Linked DNA regions of Homo sapiens: region 1 is linked to region 2. The links are contacts of gene promoters, found by promoter capture Hi-C in human tissues and cell types (Jung and others, 2019). All regions are on one chromosome and are shown on one strand. The core of a region is centred on a gene start or on the middle of the fragment in contact, and the rest is flanking DNA. Distances in the headings are between cores, read along the strand shown.

Region 1 (4,409 bases), core at 61-2,560, 55 kb after region 2:
GGAATTAGGGAGCTAAAGTGGTCTTTGCAACAGGTAGCTTGACTAATAATGGTAGAGATGGAGAGATGTGGGATGTCTGAGAATATATAGGAAGTAAAATGGGCAGAATTTTGTAAAGAATTCAACATGGATAAGGAAGAGAAAGCTCTAAAGGCTGTTGCCTGAGCATTTGGCCACAATGCGATGTTGAGGGTGCCATTCGCTGCAGAAAAAAGCAGTGGAAGCCAACCAAGTTATGGGGGAAAAGCAAAAATTTCGTCTTGAACATATTGAGTTTGAGGTCCCTGTGAGTCATCCAAGGTGAAGGTCAAATAAGAGGTGGCTTCATAGGTCTGGAGCTCAGAACAGAGGTGGAAGCTGGAGATGTCAGTCTGGGCGTCAGGTTTGTATTGTTTGTATGGGTGGTGATTGAAGCTGTGGGCATAGGTAAGATCCCAAAGTGGAGACAGTGTGAGATGAGAGGAGGGCCTAGGACTAAGTCTGTGAGGATTCCAGACACTGAACCATGGTGTCTAAATGATACAGACGGGAATGGCCCTAGAAGCCAGCACCACAGCCTCATCACTACCAATACAGACCCCTCCTGCAGTTGCGTCACCCCGCTGGACTTCAATCATTGCCTCAAGAACCGGGAGGATAATGGCCTGCCCATGCTCAGCACCAATGCCATGAGCTGGAAGACGATTTCTGCAATGGAGAAAAGGGGAGCAAGAGAGACTCAGCAGCAAAGGAAGAGAGTGTTTAGAGGAAGAGGGGTCAACAGTGCCAAATGCTGTTGAGAAATGGAGATTCAAACAGGATGGGAGTGATGAAACCCAAGAAAGTGGTCTCCTTGTAGAGGACTGAAGCTAGGGCTGATACAGGGCCAAGACAGTCTTCCATATGCATAAGTTGTACTGTAATAGCCAGTTTACATGTCTGTCTCCCTGGAGTAAAGGTCTCCAAAGTGGAACTTGTCCACCCTGTTATCCTTAAAGTCTAGTGCAAGTCCTGGAACGTAGTGGACACTTAAATTTTACTGATTAGTGAATGGGTGAATGAATGAATGAATGAATGATGGCAAATGATTGGAAGCAGAGGAAGAATCTCTGGCATCTGCCTGGACTAGCTACTATCCTTCAGCTTTTTTTCTTTTTTACCGCAATGGCCCGCAGACCCAGGAAAGAGACGACAGAGCCCCCCTTCCCTCCCTCCCCTGGGCCCTGGCCCCCCTTCCTCTCTCTGACGAAGAGTCTGGACCGAAGGTTCTGCTGACGTGGGAAGGGGAGGAGAGTCTAGAGGAAGGGGAGGGGAAAGCAGCGCAGAGATCGCAGAGACCAAGGAGGCGCCCGCGGCTGCAGAGCTGCAGAGCGGGATCTCTTCGAGCTGTCTGTGTCCGGGCAGCCGGCGCGCAACTGAGCCAGAGGACAGCGCATCCTTTCGGCGCGGGCCGGCAGGGCCCCTGCGGTCGGCAAGCTGGCTCCCCGGGTGGCCACCGGGACCCCCGAGCCCAATGGCGGGGGCGGCGGCAAAATCGACAACACTGTAGAGATCACCCCCACCTCCAACGGAGTAAGTGCCCGAGCCCCAGGTGGCGACGCCATCCTCTCCCAGCACCCCCGCCCCCGCGGAGCGTCTGGCATTTTCCTCCTGCGCATCCCTCGCCCCTGACTGCCTTCCTAGCCCTCCCTCCCACCTGCCCCCTGCCCTTGCTCTGCGGTTTCCTCCGCTTCACCCTTCTCCTGCCACCCCCTGCCCCCCAACAGCAGGTCGGGACCCTCGGAGATGCGGTGCCCACGGAGCAGCTGCAGGGTGAGCGGGAGCGCGAGCGGGAGGGGGAGGGAGACGCGGGCGGCGACGGACTGGGCAGCAGCCTGTCGCTGGCCGTGCCCCCAGGCCCCCTCAGCTTTGAGGCGCTGCTCGCCCAGGTGGGGGCGCTGGGCGGCGGCCAGCAGCTGCAGCTCGGCCTCTGCTGCCTGCCGGTGCTCTTCGTGGCTCTGGGCATGGCCTCGGACCCCATCTTCACGCTGGCGCCCCCGCTGCATTGCCACTACGGGGCCTTCCCCCCTAATGCCTCTGGCTGGGAGCAGCCTCCCAATGCCAGCGGCGTCAGCGTCGCCAGCGCTGCCCTAGCAGCCAGCGCCGCCAGCCGTGTCGCCACCAGTACCGACCCCTCGTGCAGCGGCTTCGCCCCGCCGGACTTCAACCATTGCCTCAAGGATTGGGACTATAATGGCCTTCCTGTGCTCACCACCAACGCCATCGGCCAGGTGAGGCGGCCAGGCGGGCCGCGGGTCTGGGGGCGGGCAGAGAGCGGCGAGGGCGGGGCCTCACGCCCGCTGCACCCTTCTCACATCCCCAGTGGGATCTGGTGTGTGACCTGGGCTGGCAGGTGATCCTGGAGCAGATCCTCTTCATCTTGGGCTTTGCCTCCGGCTACCTGTTCCTGGGTTACCCCGCAGACAGGTGAGGGCTGTCGTGGGGGCAGGGCTGGTAGAAAGGAGGGGGTGCTAGGGAAGCTAACCCAAGCAGCGGGCGTTTACAGGAGGTCGAAGACGATTCGCTGGACTCTGCAGTCTTCTCTGGACTTCTATTCAATGGTCTATCCATGTCTCAACTTCACTCTCCATCAAGAAATACCCCTTCCCTACCTCTTCCGCGCAAGGGAATGACTCGACCTCTATGGACTATTAGTCCCATTCCCACTAATTAGTGGCCCCCTATCCGTGAATCAATGGCCTCATCTCCAAAGAGAATAGTCTCATCCCCACTAACAGCCCACATGGACTGTTCGCTCCATCTCAGTGACCTCATTCCTGAAGATCAATATGTTAATTCCTAAACACCAACAGCTCCATTCCCACTGATCAATAGTTCAACTTCACAAACAAATTACCCCATTTCTGACCAGCGACCCCTCCCCTACAAGTCAACTAACTATCTCCAAAGACAATATCCTCAGACCCAGTAACCCACAGTCCCATGCCTGCCACCAAATGACCCAACGCTCTGTAGGGGAATAGCCCATAGATTAGCAGTCATACCCTCATGGATCCTCAGGGCTTTGAGATCCTCTCACCGAAATCCCCGTTTCCATGAGTCGGTAGCTTCACCTCTAGAGATCAACAACCCAATCCCAGCAACCAATAACTCTTCCCACAGATCAAAAATCTCATCTCTGATTCTGGTCACCTTCACCACTGACCAGATGCTCTCACTGCACTAAACTTCCGATTAGACTCAGCCCCATTGATCCACAGTTCCATCCAAGTGGATTAATAACTCAACTTCTGTGGATCAAAGCCATCCCAACATTCAATAGTCCAGTTCCTTAAAATCAATACCCATCCTCACTGCCCAATAGTCACACACCTCTGTGGGCCAATGATCCGAAACCCACAGGTCAATAGCCCATCCCTATGCATCAGTGGCCTCATTGCCACAGACCAGTAGCCTCATTCCTATGGAACCATGGTTTCATCCCCAAAGATCAATAATTTGGTCTTCTAAAATCTGTAGCCTTCAGCACATTAACCAATAAGCCCATCCTCATGGAAAAATGCCCCACCCCATTAGATCAATAGCCTAACTCCCAGGGATTGGTGCCCCTTTTGCAATGACCAGAGGCTCCCTATCTTCATCTCCATAGATCAATGGTCTTATCCCCAAAGATCAATAGCCCAGCCTCCAAGAATCAGTAACCATGTCTTCACTAACTCATAGTTAGTGACCATAATCACTTACCAATAGTCTCATCTCCCCTGGTCTGTGACCTTATCCTTACTGATTATTCCCATGGATTAATAGATTCATCCCACTGATCAATAGTCCTACCTTATGGATTAATACACCCATGTCTATGTCCCCACTGATCTTTCTTTTTTCTTTCTTTTTTTTCTTTTTTCTTTCTTTTTGAGATGGAGTCTCGCTCTGTTGCCCAGGCTGGAGTGCAGTGGCATAATCTCAGCTCACTGCAACCTCTGCCTCCCAGGTTCAAGCGATTCTCCTGCCTCAGCCTCCCGAGTAGCTGAGACTACAGGCACCTGCCACCACACCTGGCTAATTTTTGTATTTTTAGTAAGGATGGGGTTTCACCATATTTGTCAGGCTGGTCTTGAACTCCTGACCTCGTGATCTGCCAGCCTCGGCCTCCCAAAGTGCTGGGATTACAGGTGTGAGCCACTGCGCCCAGCCTGACCATTCTTAATGTATTAATAGACCAATGTCCCACCTCCATGGAACAATGGCCTCATCTCCAAAAATCAATTACTCAGTCCCCTAATATCATTGGCTTTACCTTCACTGACCAGTAGTATCCTCATGCACAAGTGGCCAATGGCCTCCCCTCCACAGGTTAATAGTTCCAACTCCGTATATCAATGAACCCCCCTCCCACATCTCCTCTGAACAGTCTGAGCAAGATAAGCTCC
Region 2 (3,977 bases), core at 930-3,429:
AGGAGCTGTGTGCAAGGCAGCTTAGGGAGGACGGAGAGCAATATGTGAGAGCAGGGAGAGAAGGAGCCTGGGGAAGGGAGAGGACGGTACAGCGGAGCAGACGGGCAGGGCCTGGGGCTGAGTGAACACCTTCCTTCCTCCTCCTTCCACAGGAGCGGGGGACTACCCCCCACCACCTCCACTCCCCGCTGCCCTGCCACCACCACCTATACCAAGTGAGGCCTGCTCAGAGCACAGGGTTCCCTGAGGACAAAGCCTGGTCTTTGTCACCTGACCCCGACCCAGACTGACCTGGCGTTCTCAGCTCCTTATCATGTCCCCAGAGCTATGGGAACCAAGCAGTGACGCACTGGCCATGGGCTAACCCCCCGGCTCGAATTCTGGGGCCTCGAGTAACCTAGAGCTGGGGACAGGTGGCCTGCATCCCCTGGGGGTAATGATTTGGCATAAGCACCTGCAGAAGATGGGGATGTGGGGTCAACTAAGGTCCCTCCAAGGACATTGAGAAAAGGTCCAAATGCTCTGGAAAGAGAGGTGTGTTCCTGAGCCCAGGAATGGGGTGGCAGCGTCCTAGGGAGCTAGGGGAGAGGCCACATCTTAATGGAAAGTGCTCCTACCCAGAGAAGCTGACCCCTGTCGTCCTACCCACCTCCACACCCTGGAGCTATATTGAGAGGTGACAGTAAACTGGTGGGAGGGGGGCTGGGAGGGTGTTCCTGGGTGTGAGGGTGGGGGGAAGGCCAGAGCAGGGGAGTCTGGCTTTGTTTCCTGAACACAATGTCCACTTAGTCATAACAGGAACAGCCTGCTGAAGACCTGACACCTACAGCCTCTGAGAGATGGCAGCATTGGAGGATGGGGAGCGGGGCCTTGAGGGCCTAGGGTGCTTGAGGACACCCACAAAGAAGGGAATGTGAGTATAAGCCCTGGAGGGCTTGGAAAGGGGCAACAAAATTCTGCCTGGGGAGGGGGCAGGTGGCAGAGCCCCACCCCGATGGAATGCAGTGCCTGGGGACCAGATGGTGTAAATCCCCAGGCCTGCCAGGCACCTGCACCCTCTGGCAGCCCGGTGAGGCAGAAGGGGACAGCCCCTCACCCACCCCCCTCCTCTCTCAGGCCCTAGGATTAGCACCATCTTCTTCTGCCCACCCCACCCCAGGAGCAGAGGGTAGCAGGGGAGGGCAAAAGCCTATGTGTGCAAATGCGGATGTGCAAATGTGTGCATCCATGTACACAAAAGAAAGTAGAAAAGAAATCTGCAAGCTTGAGTGGGTAAGTGTGAAAAATCTGCATGTGTGGCTGAAGATGGGCACAGACACGGTCAAGTCTGTATGTGAGAGTGCTGAACTGGGGTTCTGTGTGAAAATCTGCCTGAGGCGGCAGGGAGAATCACTGCCATTGCGTGAGCAGGTTGGATGTTGGCCACTCTATCAGGAGCATTAGGGAAGGGGTGGGGACTCCAGACGTGTCCCCAAACCAGGGTGGCCTCAAGACCTTGGGAGAACACTTGTCTGAAGACTTGGGGAACAGAAGGAGACCAGGCATGGCACTTATGCAGACTGAGGCCAGGACAGAATTTCCTGACAAAAGAAAACTGAGCCATGGAGATGGACAACAGATCCCTTCCCTGGGCACCATACTGCAGCTTTTAGTCCCTAGCACTGGGGGCTCCAGTACTAACAGCAGGAAGATGCTCCCAGCCTGGGACTGTGTGAGGGAGGTCAGAATGGGAAGGAGAGGCTGGGGAACAGGGGAGGAAAGCCCATGGTTGGGAGGCGGAGGACAGGCATTTGGCCTGCAGGAGAAGGTGACCCTCACCCATGTTTTCAGTTCACCCTTCGGGTTAAAAATAACTGAGGTAAGGGCCATGGCAGGGTGGGAGAGGCGGTGTGAGAAGGTCCTGTCTTCCCACTATCTGCTCATCAGCCCTTTGAAGGGGAGGAATGTGCCCAAGGACTAAAAAAAGGCCGTGGAGCCAGAGAGGCTGGGGCAGCAGACCTTTCTTGGGCAAATCAGGGGGCCCTGCTGTCCTCCTGTCACCTCCAGAGCCAAAGGATCAAAGGAGGAGGAGCCAGGAGGGGAGAGAGGTGGGAGGGAGGGTCCCTCCGGAAGGACTCCAAATTTAGACAGAGGGTGGGGGAAACGGGATATAAAGGAACTGGAGCTTTGAGGACAGATAGAGAGACTCCTGCGGCCCAGGTAAGAGGAGGTTTGGGGTGGGATGCCCTGCAGCCCGTCCACAGAGCCCCCACCGTGAGGGACCTCCTTCACCAGGAGTGGGGTGCAGGTCAGTTGGAGGCCTAAGGGCTCTATTAAAACTGCCTATCTCCAGGCCCAGGGAAGTTCCCCCTGACACAAGGAGGTTCCACAGGAAACCCAGAAACCTCTTTTCTCCTTCTCTGACTCTCCATTTCTTTCTCTGCATCATTCTGAGTCTCCTACATGTTGTCTCCATCTTTCCATCTTCCTTCCTCCTTTGGATGGCTTCCTTCCCTTGATCCTGGTTTTATCTTGCCTCTTGGTCTTCATCGACACTTGTCACAATCATGCTTCTTTGTCTCTCTCCCTTGTCCTTCCTTCTTGGCACGTGTTCTCACCTCCCTGCCTCTCTGCTTCTAACCCTGTTTCCACACCCCGTCCCTCGCACTCATATTGACTCGGTGCCCTTTCTTTTCTGCCTCTGCGTCTTTCCCTTTCTGACTCCCTGGTCTGTCCTGCCTGTCTGCGCTCTGGGGCTGCCTCCATCCCCGGGTGGCCTGCCTCTGTTGTTCTTCACTCTCCTCATCTGTTCTTCTCTCTGCCCGGCTCTACCTCTGTTGTTCCTTGCTCCACCCACGGTCCAGATTCTTCAGGATTCTCCGTGAAGGGATAACCAGGTGAGAACTGCCCCCATTTTCTCTGCAGAGACTGGGGCATGCTTCTCCTGGGAGCCGGATTGCTGGACCAGGGGTCTGCTGTCCCAAGCACTCAGCGCCAACCCTTAGCATACTCCAGCCAATGCCACCCCAGGGAAACCCCTTACAGAGATTGTCCTTCAGCATCACCTCAGAGGGCAGGAGAAGCAGAGCCCTGAGTAGGGGAGGGTGCAACAGCAGGTGCCTCTCCCAGGGTGGAGGAGAGGAGCGGGGGTAGGGAGGGGGGCTGCAGAGGACAAAGCCACTCGCTGGAGCCTGGGCTCCCTCAGGAGTAACATAGCCCTCCTGTCTCTGACCCAGGGGAAGCACCAAGATGACCGATGCCCAGATGGCTGACTTTGGGGCAGCGGCCCAGTACCTCCGCAAGTCAGAGAAGGAGCGTCTAGAGGCCCAGACCCGGCCCTTTGACATTCGCACTGAGTGCTTCGTGCCCGATGACAAGGAAGAGTTTGTCAAAGCCAAGATTTTGTCCCGGGAGGGAGGCAAGGTCATTGCTGAAACCGAGAATGGGAAGGTGAGTAGGGCATGGCGCCGGGGCAGAAGGGAAGGAGGTCTGGGAAAGAAGATGCAGAGGTGGAGCCACTTGCAGGGGGAGCTGAGAGGGCTGGAGAAAAGCCAAGGCCAGTGGGGATGCCAGGACATGCTCCTTTGAGGAGCCCAGAATCTGATCCCTCTCAAATTGACCTGAGCTGGTGCAACAGGTGCCACCCAGGGCCATGTTCCCCCTGCCAGAGAGGATGCTGAGGAAGAAGAACCTCAGTGTTCGCCTAAGAGGGGTCTTGTAGATAAAGAGGGCACAGACACAGCATTAAATGATGCCCCCTTCTTGCACTTGTATCCCTCTTCCCTGTGCCTCAGTTTCCTCCATGAGTCCACTTTCTCAAATTCCGTTCACCCAAATCAAGAGTAATTCTTAGACCCAGATGAACACAAAGATCAGAAACTTTTGAGCTGAGCACTCTCCTTGACTGGCACTCAGAAGCTCTGGTCCCTGGTTTGCTCACACCAGCCAAGAGAATCACCCCTGGTTACCAGCTGCGGCTCAGGGCTGTGTGCCTCATG

What was found. The method cuts DNA at HindIII sites, captures the fragments that hold promoters and counts their contacts. A contact is called where the count stands out against the background at its distance.
Region 1: the fragment with the promoter of SLC22A17 here is called in contact with the fragment with the promoter of MYH6 in region 2 in 1 of the 25 tissues and cell types used here (thymus).

The regions. Positions count from the first base shown.
Region 1 is chr14:23,349,788-23,354,196 of GRCh38, reverse strand. SLC22A17 (solute carrier family 22 member 17) reads left to right here and starts at 1,310. Exons shown (of 10, transcript NM_016609.7): 1 at 1,310-1,551; 2 at 1,746-2,249; 3 at 2,342-2,445. The coding sequence starts at 1,456. The HindIII fragment of the contact is 16,780 bases long and covers 1-4,409 here.
Region 2 is chr14:23,406,475-23,410,451 of GRCh38, reverse strand. It overlaps MYH6 (myosin heavy chain 6), which reads left to right and starts at 2,179. Exons shown (of 39, transcript NM_002471.4): 1 at 2,179-2,199; 2 at 2,844-2,876; 3 at 3,216-3,429. The coding sequence starts at 3,229. RefSeq lists enhancers at 2,826-3,326, 1,009-3,977. The HindIII fragment of the contact is 16,944 bases long and covers 431-3,977 here.